Linked DNA regions of Homo sapiens: all the other regions are linked to region 2. The links are contacts of gene promoters, found by promoter capture Hi-C in blood cells and fetal thymus (Javierre and others, 2016). All regions are on one chromosome and are shown on one strand. The core of a region is centred on a gene start or on the middle of the fragment in contact, and the rest is flanking DNA. Distances in the headings are between cores, read along the strand shown.

Region 1 (2,700 bases), core at 58-2,557, 230 kb after region 2:
CTTGCTTTATCCAGCTTGCCACTCTGTGCCTTTGAAGTGGGGCATTTAGCCCATTCACCTTCAAGGTCAGTATTGATATGTATGGATTTGATCCTGTCATTGTGCTGTTAGCTGGTTATTATCTTGGCTTCTTTGTGTGGTTGTTTTACAGTGACACTGGTCTGTGTGTTTAAGTATGTTTTTGTATTAGCTGGCAGTAGTCTTTCCTTTCTATATTTAGTGCTCATTTCAAGATCTCTTGTAAGGCAGATCTGGTGGTGATGAATTCCCTCAATATTTGCTTATCTGAAAAGGAACATATTTCTCCCTCACTTAGGAAACTTAGTTTGGCTGGATATGAAATTCTTGGTTGAAGATTATTTTTCTCTAAGAATGTTGATTATAGGTCCCCAATCTCTTCTGGCTTGTAGGGTTTTAGCTGAGAGGTCTGCTGTTAGCCTAATGGGGTTCCCTTTGTAGGTAACCTTCCCTTTCTCTCTAGTTTGCTGAGAATGATGGTTTCCAGCTTCATCCATGTCCCTACAAAGGACATGAACTCATCCTTTTTTATGGCTGCATAGTATTCCATGGTGTGTATGTGCCACATTTTCTTAATCCAGTCTATCATTGTTGGACATTTGGGTTGGTTCAAAGTCTTTGCTATTGTGAGTAGTGCCGCAATAAACATATGTGTGCATGTGTCTTTATAGCAGCATGATTTATATTCCTTCAGGTATATACCCAGTAATGGGATGGCTGGATCAAATGGTATTTCTAGTTTTAGATCCCTGAGGAATTGCCACACTGTCTTCCACAATGGTTGAACTAGTTTACAGTCCCACCAACAGTGTAAAAGTGTTCCTATTTCTCCACATCCTCTCCAGCACCTGTTGTTTCCTGACTTTTTAATGATTGCCATTCTAACTGGTGTGACATGATATCTCATTGTGGTTTTAATTTGCATTTCTCTGATGGCCAGTGATGATGAACATTTTTTCATGTGTCTGTTGGCTGCATAAATGTCTTCTTTTGCGAAGTGTCTGTTCATATCCTTCGCCCACTTTTTGATGGGGTTGTTTTTTTCTTGTAAATTTGTTTGAGTTCTTTGTGGATTCTGGATATTAGCCCATTGTCAGATGAGTAGATTGCAAAAATTTTCTCCTATTCTGTAGGTTGCCTGTTCACCCTGATGGTAGTTTCTTTGGCTGTGCAGAAGCTCTTTAGTTTAATTAGATCCCAGTTGTCAATTTTGGCTTTTGTTGCCATTGCTTTTGGTGTTTTAGACATGAAGTCCATGCCCATGCCTATGTCCTGAATGGTATTGCATAGGTTTTCTTCTAGGGTTTTTATGGTTTTAGGTCTAACATTTAAATCTTTAATCCATCTTGAATTAATTTTCGTATAAGGTGTAAAGAAGGGATCCAGTTTCAGCTTTCTACATATGGCTAGCCAGTTTTCCCAGCACCATTTGTTAAATAGGGAATCCTTTCCCCATTGCTTGTTTTTCTCAGGTTTGTCAAAGATCAGATAGTTGTAGATGTGTGGTATTGTTTCTGAGGGCTCTGTTCTGTTCCATTGGTCTATATCTCTGTTTTGGTACTAGTACCATGCTGTTTTGGTTACTGTAACCTTGTAGTATAGTTTGAAGTCAGATAGCGTGATGCCTCCAGCTTTGTTCTTTTGGGTTAGGATTAACTTGGCGATCTGGGCTCCTTTTTGGCTCCATATGAACTTTAAAGTAGTTTTTCCCAATTCTGTGAAGAAAGTCATTGGTAGCTTGATGGGGATGGCATTGAATCTATAAATTACCTTGGGCAGTATGGCCATTTTCACGATATTGATTCTTCCTACCCATGAGCATGGAATGTTCTTCCATTTGTTTGTGTCCTCTTTTATTTCGTTAAGCAGTGGTTTGTAGTTCTCCTTGAAGAGGTCCTTCACATCCTTTGTAAGTTGGATTCCTAGGTATTTTATTCTCTTTGAAGCAATTGTGAATGGGAGTTCACTCATGATTTGGCTGTTTGTCTGTTGTTGGTGTATAAGAATGCTTGTGATTTTTGTACATTGATTTTGTATCCTGAGACTTTGCTGAAGTTGCTTATCAGCTTAAGGAGATTTTGGGCTGACATGATGGGGTTTTCTAGATATACAATCATGTCATCTGCAAACAGGGACAATTTGACTTCCTCTTTTCCTAACTGAATGTGCTTTATTTCTTTCTCTTACCTGATTGCCCTGGCCAGAACTTCCAACACTATGTTGAATAGGAGTGGTGAGAGAGGGCATCCCTGTCTTGTGCCAGTTTTCAAAGAGAATGCTTCCAGATTTTTGCCCATTCAGTATGATATTGGCTGTGGGTTTGTCATAGATAGCTCTTATTATTTTGAGATACGTCCCATCAATACCTAATTTATTGAGAGTTTTTAGCATGAAAGGTTGTTGAATTTTGTCAAAGACCTTTTCTGCATCTATTGAGATAATCATGTGGTTTTTGTTTTTTGTTCTGTTTATATGCTGGATTACATTTATTGATTTGTGTATGTTGAACCAGCCTTGCATCCCAGGGATGAAGTCCAGTTGATCGAGGTGGATACGCTTTTTGATGTGCTGCTGGATTCGGTTTGCCAGTATTTTATTGAGGATTTTTGCATTGATGTTCATCAGGGATATTGGTCTAAAATTCTCTTTTTTTGTTGTGTCTCTGCCCGGCTTTGGTATCAG
Region 2 (2,700 bases), core at 68-2,567:
TGGCCCTATACAACAGCCCAGCCAGATATTCCCTTATTTCAGTCATGAGCTGTCCCATGTTGTTTAAAAAGCATTAACTAATAACATTATTAAATCATCAATATTATTAACTATAGTAAATATAATAAGGCATGACATTATATTATACATCTGGATGGCTGTGGTTTTAGAACATAATTGTAAGAACTTCACCTGTGACATTGGCCTGATGATGGGTTATGATGCAGTCCTGTAGCTTAGACATGAATATTTCAGGTTCAGATCGTAGGTACTGGAACAGAGGTCTCTAGATTCTCTCCATCTTTCATTCTTCACTGCTTACTGTGGTGAACGCAGGTGCATGGAGACCCCCATATTGGATGTCAAGTCACTACCACTAAGGGGAATGAATTTTCCGAACCCAGATTAACTTTCTCAGGGAAGACTTTATTTCTTGGTTCCTCAAACTGTAGATAAAGGGATTCAACATTGGAGTTACCACTGTGTACATCACTGATGCAACTGTGTCCTTCTGGGCCGAGTGGGTTGAGGGAGAACTGAAATCAACACAAAAAGAAGTCCCAAAGAAGAGAGAGACCACGGAGAGATGAGAGCTGCAGGTGGAAAAGGCTTTCCGCTTCCCCTGAGCTGATGGGATCTTCAGGATGGTCGAGAAAACGTTCGTGTAAGAGATAATCAGGCAAAGCACACAAATGAGTCCTGTGAGACCCCCAGTGATGAAGATCACCAGCTCATTGGTGAAGGGGTCTGTGCAGGACAGACTCAGGAGGGGATTGATGTCACAGAAGAAGTGTGGGATCTCATGGTTTGCGCAGAAGGACAGGCTGTTCATCAGAAGTGTGTGTAGAAGGGAGTGGAGGGCATTCATGATCCAGGATGCAGACACGAGGAAGATGCAGAGCCCAGGGCTCATGATCAGAATGTAATGAAGTGGGTGGCATATGGCCACGTAGCAGTCATAGGCCATGACCGCCAAGAGGAATGCCTCCAGCATCACAAATAACATGAAAAAATACAACTGTAGTAGACACCCTGAGTAGGAGATGGCCTGACTCTGGATCTGTATGTTTGCCAGCATCTTAGGGACTGTGGTGGACACAAAGCAGGCATCTGCAAGGGAGAGGTTGGCTAGAAAGAAGTACATGGGGGTATGGAGTTGAGTGTCAGTAATGATGACTAGAATGATGAGGAGGTTGCCTGCCACCGTGACCAAGTACATGAACAGGAAGGACCCAAAGAGGGGCTTCTGCTCCTCCAGCTGCTCAGAGAACCCCAGGAGGAAACATTCTGAGATGCTGGTCAGATTTTTCCCCTCCATTTGTCTGTAGGAAGAAAGTTGGGTTAATTGGGTGACGTTGGTAAGCCCTGGATTGTGAACTCTGAAAATTATGCAATATTCCAGTGTTGATCTTCTAGTGTGAGGTTGGATCATAGGAAATCTCCACTATTTGACTCTTTGGGACCTGCAAAAATGGCCATTTCATAGGGTTCGACTAAATATTTGCAAATTCCTGTGCTTGGTGCTATGAGAAACCACAGATTTGTTTGTAATGCAATGAGAGGCTTTTAAATTTATTCCATAAGCATTAAGCCAATATGTGTATTTTGGGGCTGGGCTGGAGGGGCTTGCTGGCTTTGCTCTGGTAGTGTTCATGTAGAAACTATGACATTTATACAACCCAAGATTTTACAGGTCAAATGAGCCCATTGTACCAATAATTAAAAAGACAGCTCCTGGAAAGGGGTTTTGGAATTGGGAAAAGCATGGCTAACATGGAAATCATTATCACTGTTATCTACACAGCGGGTCTGGCCAGAAACCTGAGCGTCATTATTGACCCACGTTTCTCCCTCCCTGCCTACATCCAACCACCACCAAAGCCTGGCAATTTTACCTTCTCAATATGGCTACAATTTACTGACGTCTCTCTGTTTACTGGTCACCATCAGTCCCAGCTGCAGCTCATGTCATTCAGGGCACTGTGATTTCTCACTTGGATTTGGGCAGTTGATCTCCATGCCCCCAGGTATGCCCACCTGCCACCTGCTGTTCTAAATACACAGAGAATAGGCTTGCTAAAAATCAAATTCGACTCTTGTCTTTCTGCTTGAAAAATCCTTCATACACTCCTCATTACTCCCAGGATAAACTCTAAACTGAACACGGCTGAATGTCCTGGATCTTACCGTCATTTATTACAGACATCCCCAGTTCCTCATGAAACTCCCTCCTCCACTCCACACTTTATGCACTAATCATAGTTTCAATTATTTTAAAGGCCCAGATACTCCCTCACCTTTAGGCTTTCTCAGGCTGAAATAGTTTTTCCCATCCCATTTATCAGACGAGCTAAGCTTCAGGTCTCACCTTAGATGTCACCTCTTCTGGGAAGTCTTTCCCAACTCATCCTCTCACCAGAAACTCAGGTTCGTGACCTTCCTAATGCAGTGCCTCCCCCATCACAGCACGTGTCACCTTGGATTCTGAGTGTCTGTTTATATGAGTGTCCCTCATTCTGCTGTGAGCATCACTGGGAGTAGGCAGAGATGGTGCCTAATTGGCTCAGCTTTGAAATCTAGCATTAGCCTTGAGGCTGGTACAACACAGATGCTCAGTATGAATCTATCATGTAAATACATAAACCCCAGAGAATGGAAAGAGTGGGAAGAATGGAAAGGGGCTTTGCTATAGAGGTAATA
Region 3 (2,700 bases), core at 142-2,641, 220 kb after region 2:
TTTTGGACTGCCTTGCTAGGTTGGGGAAGTTCTCCTGGATAATATCTTGAAGAGTGTTTTCCAGCTTCGTTCCATTTTCCACATCACTTTCAGGTACACCAATCAAATGTAGATTTTGTCTTTTCACATAGTCCCATATTTCTTGAAGGCTTTGTTCGTTTCTTTTTACTCTTTTTTCTCTAAACTTCTCTTCTTGCTTTATTTCATTAATTTGATCTTCAATCACTAATACTCTTTCTTCCACTTGATCAAATCGGCTACTGAAGCTTGTGCATGCGTCACGTAGTTCTTGTGTCACGGTTTTCAGCTCCATCAGGTCATTTAAAGTCTTCTCTACACTGTTTATTCTAGTTAGCCATTTGTCTAATCTTTTTTCAAGGTTTTTAGCTTCCTTGCAATGGGTTCAAACACCCTCCTTTAGCTCAGAGAAGTTTGTTATTACCGACTTTCTGAAGCCTACTTCTGTCAACTCGTCAAAGTCATTCTCTGTCCAGCTTTGTTCTGTTGCTGGCGAGGAGCTGCAATCCTTTGGAGGAGAAGAGGAGCTCTGGTTTTTAGAATTTTCAGCTTTTCTCCTCTGGTTTCTCCCCATCTTTGTGGTTTTATCTACCTCTGGTCTTTGATGATGGTGACCTACAGATGGGGTTTTGGTGTGGATGTCCTTTTTGTTGATGTTGATGCTATTCCTTTCTGTTGTTAGTTTTCCTTCTGTCAGGTCCCTCAGCTGCAGGTCTGTTAGAGTTTGCCGGAAGTCCACTCCAGACCGTTTGCCTGGGTGTCACCAGTGGAGGCTGCAGAAGGGCAAATATTGCAGAACAGCAAATATTGCTGCCCGATCCTTCCTCTGGAAGCTTCGTCTCAGAGGGCCACCTGGCTGTATGAGGTGTCAGTCAGCCCTACTGGGAGGTGTCTCCAAGTTAGGCTACCTGGGGGTCAGGGACCCACTTGACGAGGCAGTCTGTCCATTCTCAGAGCTCAAACACCATGATGGGAGAACCACTGCTCTCTTCAGAGCTGTCAGACAGGGACGTTTAAGTCTGCAGAAGTTTCTGCTGCCTTTTGTTCAGCTATGCCCTGCCCCCAGAGGTGGAGTGCACAGAGGCAGGCGGGCCTCGTTGGCTTCCTGGCCGCTGTGTTTACCTACTCTAGCCTCAGCAATGGTGGACGCCCCTCCTCCAGCCAGGCTTGCCGCCTTGCAGTTCGATCTTGGACTGCTGCGCTAGCAGTGAGCAAGGCTCCGTGGGCATGGGACTCACTGAGCCAGGCACGGGATATAATCTCCTGGTGTGCCATTTGCTAAGACCTCTGGAAAAGTGCAGTATCTAGGTTGCAGTGTCCCGATTTTCCCGGTACAGTCTGTCATGGCTTCCCTTGTCTAGGAAAGGGAAATCCCCTGACCCCTTGCACTTCCCAGGTGAGGCGATGCCCTGCCCTGCTTCGGCTCACCCTCTGTGGGCTGCTCCCACTGTCCAACCAGTTCCAATGAGATGAACCAGGTACCTCAGTTGGAAAAGCAGAAATCACCCATCTTCTGTGTCGATCATGCTGGAAGCTGTAGACCAGAGCTGTTCCTATTCAGCCATCTTGAAATGAACCTACTTATATGAAATTCTAATGCAAACACAATAAGAAATTGACTCACTGGCCAACATAAACTCAGTATGCCCCATCCAATATCTCATTTTGGAGAATGCTGAGATTTTAATGTGCTGCGTCTTGCTTTCACTTACTGCCATGCATCCATTTTAGAAAACAGAAAGAAACTAGAAACCATGACTTCTTTCCACCTTTAAAAAGCATTTCATGAAGAAAACTAAGCCACAAATTCAGTAATTCAGTAGTTCTGGGTGGGAAGTGGGGAAAAGAACAAGTTTGGAGGGAGTACACCCAGGAGTTGTCAGCACTGTATTGAACAGGAGTGTTCATTCAATGAAAGCTTGCTTAGTGTCATATCAACCTACTCCCATTTTTAACAGTAGTCTAGTTTTCATCCAGCCTCCACCCCTCCCTGACGTAGCCCACATGCTTTGGCAGAAGATAACTCCATCTCCCCCACCCCCTTTGCCTCATTATTTGTTCAAGTAACCTAGATTCATGCCAACCAACACTTGAAATGCTGTCCCATCACCATGGACAACCTATGTCATCAAAGAAGCAGAAGGAGGGGTCTGTGATTCTACTTTGTCTAGGAAGTTTTTCTCATTCTAATCCATGGCTTGCAATACATCTTAGTGTCATTCACCTTGTTTTGATTTTTCCACTCAGTGATATACAGGAGTGCTGTAGTGCCACATCAGTGCATATGCAGTGGGATATTCGGCTCTGTGGCATTGCCCCTTCTTTAGGTGGCATGTTACAAAAATGAGCCAAAGATGATGTCTGTGTATTGACTCTTAGGTGGTTTATTTCTTCACTGCTGGCTGAGACTTGTGAGCTAAAAAGCCTGCTTCCACCAAATTCAAATTTTTACACATCTAATTATTTTTAAATAAAAATACCCTGAAGAAGAAGATTTTCAGCAATTTAGACCTTCCTGCTTTGCGTGTCCTGTAAATATTCACCCTGCATCTGCCAACCACAAACAAGATAGCCTTGTGGTTGTAAGACTCCAGGCCACTACTGTACCTTGGAGACTCTGACCCAGAGATTCCCCACCATACAGCTAGACAATATCATCTAGACACAAAAGTCCCTCTCCGA
Region 4 (2,700 bases), core at 133-2,632, 140 kb after region 2:
AATGTAACAAGGTTGTAAGTTGTTTTTCAGTGGCCATGGCTCCTTAGGTCATGTGACCTGAGTATGCTCGGATGAACCAAGCATGAAACCACAGGAGAAACTAAGTGCTGGGGCTGAAGCTTTTTCTTTTTTTTTTTTTTTGAGACAGAGTCTGGCTCTGTCACCCAGGCTGGAGTGCAGTGGCACGATCTCAGCTCACTGCAACCTCCACCTCCCGGGTTCAAGCAATTCTCCTGCCTCAGCCTCCCAAGTAGCTGGGACTACAGGCGCCCACCACAACGCCTGGCTAATTTTTTTGTATTTTAGTGGAGACGGGGTTTCTCCATGTTGGCCAGGACAGTCTAGATCTCCTGACCTCATGATCTGCCCGCCTTGGCCTCCCAAAGTGCTATGATTACAGGAGTGAGCCACTGGGCCCGGCCATAATTTTTGTACTTTTAGTAGAGACAGGGTTTCACCATGTTGACTAGGCTGGTCTCGAACTCCTGACCTCAGGTGATCCACCTGCCTCGGCCTCCCAAAGTGTGGTGAGAGATGAAGTCCCTGGACTTCCTGGGTAGAGTGGGACTTGGAGAACTTTTCTTTCTAGCAAGAGGATTGTAAAATGCACCAATCAGCACTCTGTAGCTAGGATTGTAATATGTACCAATCAGTGCTCTGTAGCTAGCAAGGGGATGGTAAAATGCACCAATCAGCACTCTGTAAAATGCACCAATCAGCAGGATCCTAAAAGTAGCCAATAACAGGGAGGATTGAAAAAAAAGGGCATTCTGATAGGACAGAAACGGAACATGGGCGGGGACAAATAACAGAATAAAAGCTGGCCACCCCTCAGCCAGCAGCGGCAACCCACTCTGGTCTCCTTGCATGCTATGGAAGCTTTGTTCTTTTGCTCTTCACAACATTTCTTGCTGCTACTCACTCTTTGGGTCCATGCCATCTTTAAGAGCTGTAACACACCGTGAAGGTCCACAGCTCCATTCTCGAAGTTAGCAAGACCATGAACCCACTGGAAGGAACCAACTCCGGATACACCGGGATTATAGATGTGAGCATTTAATAATTTAATACCTGCCTCTGGTTTTGCTTCCCAGATTCCAGATTCTCAGCTTCAGGAGAAGCACCTCCACTCTTACTGCTTTCGCTAACTTCATTTCCCTAACACTATATTGCCATTGTTTTAATACATTCTTCTTTATCCTATGGGAATAGTTGTCTCTCATTATTATTTTCATTTGAATAGCTCTGACGTAATAAGGTTTATCTTTTTCCTGGTATTTGTTAACAATTTGCATTTTTTGTTAATCACTCTTGTGCATTTTATTTTTGGTTGTGTATTGTTCAATTTCCAGTACTATGGAATCTCTATGTATGTCTTTCCTTCAGAAGTAACCATGACCCTGAATTTTGTGTTTGTCATTTTCTTCCTTCACTCCAACCCGTGGGGAGTACAATTCAGCATGATATTTGGGTAGGGACACAGAGCCAAAACTTATCAGTGTCCATTCACCTACAGATGGACATTTGGGTTGTGGGGCAGGCAGCCTCTAAAATGTCTCCCAGTGATTGCTGCCTCATGGTATTCATAGCTGTATATAGTCCCCTCTCTTGGGTGTGGGTGAAATCTAGGGACTTGCTTCTAACAAAGAGAATACAGTAAAACTAATGACTTCTGAGATTAAGTTATAAAAGACTATGATTTCCATCTCCTCTCTTTCTGGCTCTCTTCTCGATTGCTCTGTGGAAGGAAGCAGACGTGTTTTGAGAGGCCTTAGTAGCAAGGAACTGAAGGCGGCCTCCAGCCAACAGACAGTGAGGCACTGAGGCCTCCAGTCCAACAACCAGCAAAATGTGGAAACTTACCAGGGATCACGTGAATGAGCATGGAAGCTTATCCCTCCCTGGTCAAGCCTTGAGACAGCTGCACCACTGGCTGATACCGCTAAGGCAGCCTCATGAGAGAACCCGGACCCAGTATTTCTGATGCAAATTTGGCATCCTAATTGAGATGTGCTATAAGTTTAAAAAACACGTACCAGGCCAGGCACGGTGGCTCACTCCTGTAATCCCAGCATTTTGGGAGGGTGAGGCGGGTGGATCATGAGGTAAAGAGATCGAGATCATCCTGGCCAACATAGTGAAACCCTGTACCTACTAAAAATACAAAAATTAGCCGGGCATGCTGGCATGCACCTGTAGTCCCAGCTACTTGGGAGGCTGAGGCAGGAGAATTGCTTGAACCTGGGAGGCGGAGGTTGTGGTGAACCGAGATCACGCCACTGCACTCCAGCCTGGCAACAGAGCAAGACTCTGTCTAAAAAAACAAAACAAAACAAACAAACAAACAAAAAAAACACATACCAGATTTCAAAGACTATGAAATATAAAAATGTAAAATCTGTCACTTATAATTTTTTATTTTTAAAATATTTTTCTTTTTTCACTACAACCATGACAGATGAAAAATTTTAAATATTAACATGTTGAAGTGGTAATATTTTAGATTATTGAATTAAATAAAATACATCATTAATTTCACCTGTTTCTTTTTACTTTTATTAAAGTGGCTCTTGAAAAATTTAAATTATGTATGTGGTTCATATGAAATTTCTATTGGATAGCACTGCTCTGGATGATAGCTTCTTCTTCCAGAAATGACTTATTTTTGAGTCTGGCAGGCAGAAAGGATAGGAGTAGATC
Region 5 (2,700 bases), core at 174-2,673, 180 kb after region 2:
GTTGTTTGTTTGCCTGTTTTTTTAGAGACAGGCCTTGCTCTGTTACCCAGGCCGAAATTCTATGGCGCCATCATAGCTCAACGCAGCCTCAAACTCCTGGCCTCAAGCAATCCTCCTACCTTAGCCTCCCAAGTAGCTGGGACTACATGTTTGTGCCACCACAGTCAGCTAATTTTTTTTGTAGAGACAGGGTTTCATTATGTTGCCCCTGATCTAGAACGCCTGGCCTCAAGCAATCCCCCCACTCCAGCCTCCCAAACTGTTGGGATTAGAGGCACAAGCCACCGCATCCAGCCACCCCCATTTTGATGAGGTTACTTCCTCATCCAGGAGGCACCAGATGTAATGCAGTTACCTAGATGCTCCCACTCCCCCTTCCAATTCCTACAAATATATAGAGTGTTTGTGGGGGGTGGGGTCCCTTTCTACTGAAAAGCTTGCCATAGTGTGTGTAGTCTAGTGACGCTCAACCTTAGCCCCTCTCCATGTGGAATAGGGAGAGTGCAGGGGATCACTGTGCTCTACTACTCTTCAAAAAAAAAAAAAAAACCGTAACCCCTTTTATTTTCTCCACTTAAAATCAAATAGAAAACAAAAACCACTAATATCTTCAAAAGACATTGTTAGTGTAAGAGAAAGACTAAGAACCACTTAAAATCAAATAGAAAACAAAAACCACTAATAACTTCAAAAGACATTGTTAGTGTAAGAGAAAGACTAAGAACAAAAATTGGGTTTATAGAGTCAAACATAAGTGAGTGTCACTCTTATACTTCCAAGTTTTTCCACAACAAGGCATGTGGTTCAACTGGATTTACACACGCACGCGTGCTTGTGTGTGTGCGCATTTTGTACAAAAGGTTTTGTACATCTTGGGTTCCTGTGGGATGTTCAGGTAGAAATATCCAACACACAGGCATTAGGGTCAACAACTTAGTGTCTGGGAGGGAGATAAAAACTGAGGATCGCCTGCATGTACTGCCTTTGGATTGCTATGGGAAGACAGAGGAAGGCCTCCTAGCCTGGCCCCAGGGACTCATAGGCAGTTTCTGGAAAGGAGGAGACCTGCAATGAGTCTTCAAGGAGGAAGTTCCCTTCCTTAACATTGTGTCAGAAAAGGAGACGACACAGCCTCCGGTATGTCAGGAGAAAGCAGAAATAATGGGTTCTATTTGAGCTCTGCAACTTAGCCTCTTACAAGGACAGCTGTCAACAGAAATCCCAATCCATCCTAATTCTCTGACAACTCCTCCTTGGCCCATGACAGGCTTAAGCCACTATGAGTTTCCTCAAGTGATCCTGCAAAGAGCTTCTTCCAAACCTGTTAATGAGAGTCAGTGAGAATGCTTAATTAATGAACAAGGAATTAAAATTGCAGTTGATGTCTGAAGCCACCATTAGATGTTAGTGAAAGTAGATGGTCCTGTTCTAAAAGTCCTCTAACCCTTTATCTTCCTTTGTGGTGTTGGAGGCATGAGACTAGAAAACATTTTGAGCCAGGATGCTACAGGTTCTAGATTACACTGTGGGAGCCCAGAAAAAGGCAAAGCGCTTGACTGAGACTAGAAGAGAAGCCGGGCTTGAGGATGGCTCACGTGAGCTGTGATGGGAGGTGACCTTGTGAGATGATGGCAAGAACACTGATCCAGGGATGAAACAGGAGGAAATCCTGACCTAGGCTCTGGCCTCCTCCCAGCCCCATGCTGCAGGCCAGGTGAGAAAGTCACAAGTCACTGCTCCTCTCCTCTCCTGTCCCCACCCAAGATGATGGGCTGGATTAAATCAGAAACCCAAAATCTCAACACCGTCCCCAACACAAGGTGACTTTCAGGATTTTAAGTCTTTGAGATGTTCATTTTAACTCTATAAAATGTTGATTACAAGAGTGCCGTTTCACCAGTGCTCAAAAATATTTTTGTTAAATAAATGAATGAATTTTGCCATATTGAAGAAGGCTGTACTTGGAAACATTTTGACAAGTCCATAACATTTTAAAAATATTTGAGGTCATTATGTCTTTGGCAAAGGCAGGTGTCTTTACCTGGTTCTGGCTCCCCCTGGAAGGTGCTAATTTCTGAGGCCTCCAGGGGAACAATGAGGAGGAGAAAAATCCCAGTGTGAAAATGATGTCAGCGGAGTTGCTTGTCCCTTTGTCTGTCTGTCCTTTATAAGCCATCCCCTCTGCAGAGGCTGCTGGGCCGGCGGGACTGTCCCTCCTCCTCTTTGCCCATCTCTTTGGCCGGGTGAGTCTCATCTCAAGACTCCTCACTGTACTCTCACAGCTTGGTCTCCATACAAATGAAGTTCACCCTCTGGGCTCTGAAACAGCTTCTCACTCCACCCAAAAAGATCCAGTGGGATTTGGGTGCTTCAATGTGCAGGGTTAGAGAGAGGGAAGAATCAGTAATGACTAAGCTTTCAAGCGCTACTCACGGGGAGGATGGCAATGCTGCTACCAAAATACTTAGTCCAAAGCAGATTGAGATTGAAGAAGGACGGTTCTGATTTGGAGAGACTGAGTTTGAGGTAATGGTAAGAGCATGTCCATGCAGAAAAGGCCATACTATTAGATGGTAATTGACCCTCTGGAGACCTGAGGACGGCATTCTCCACATTTAATCATTGGGAAATATCTTCCTCTGCTCATGCCTTTTGCCCCCTAGTGGTCTCCAACTCCACCCCTTCCCTGGATGAGTTAGC

The links. Contacts are between HindIII fragments. The CHiCAGO score rates a contact against its expected background, and 5 or more counts as called.
Region 1: a contact is called between a fragment that was not itself captured here and the fragment with the promoter of OR1G1 in region 2, in 5 of 17 cell types (M2 macrophages, M1 macrophages, M0 macrophages and 2 more). The highest score is 8.9, in M2 macrophages.
Region 3: a fragment that was not itself captured here is called in contact with the fragment with the promoter of OR1G1 in region 2 in 4 of 17 cell types (endothelial precursors, M1 macrophages, M2 macrophages and 1 more); the score reaches 7.7 in endothelial precursors.
Region 4: a fragment that was not itself captured here is called in contact with the fragment with the promoter of OR1G1 in region 2 in 3 of 17 cell types (endothelial precursors, M2 macrophages and M1 macrophages); the score reaches 9.5 in endothelial precursors.
Region 5: a fragment that was not itself captured here is called in contact with the fragment with the promoter of OR1G1 in region 2 in 5 of 17 cell types (M1 macrophages, M2 macrophages, endothelial precursors and 2 more); the score reaches 8.0 in M1 macrophages.

What each region holds. Positions count from the first base shown.
Region 1 is chr17:3,359,214-3,361,913 of GRCh38, forward strand. All of the region lies in intron 1 of OR3A2 (olfactory receptor family 3 subfamily A member 2), which reads right to left. Among named protein-coding and RNA genes, the nearest start is that of OR1R1, 25 kb to the right of the region's middle. The HindIII fragment of the contact is 7,072 bases long and covers 1-2,700 here.
Region 2 is chr17:3,126,234-3,128,933 of GRCh38, forward strand. It overlaps OR1G1 (olfactory receptor family 1 subfamily G member 1), which reads right to left and starts at 1,318. Exons shown (of 1, transcript NM_003555.1): 1 at 377-1,318. The coding sequence starts at 1,318. The coding sequence ends at 377. The HindIII fragment of the contact is 3,090 bases long and covers 1-2,353 here.
Region 3 is chr17:3,341,802-3,344,501 of GRCh38, forward strand. All of the region lies in intron 1 of OR3A2 (olfactory receptor family 3 subfamily A member 2), which reads right to left. Among named protein-coding and RNA genes, the nearest start is that of OR1R1, 43 kb to the right of the region's middle. The HindIII fragment of the contact is 1,085 bases long and covers 850-1,934 here.
Region 4 is chr17:3,266,735-3,269,434 of GRCh38, forward strand. No RefSeq gene overlaps it. Among named protein-coding and RNA genes, the nearest start is that of OR3A1, 30 kb to the right of the region's middle. The HindIII fragment of the contact is 1,011 bases long and covers 878-1,888 here.
Region 5 is chr17:3,306,147-3,308,846 of GRCh38, forward strand. All of the region lies in intron 2 of OR3A2 (olfactory receptor family 3 subfamily A member 2), which reads right to left. Among named protein-coding and RNA genes, the nearest start is that of OR3A1, 9.1 kb to the left of the region's middle. The HindIII fragment of the contact is 1,979 bases long and covers 435-2,413 here.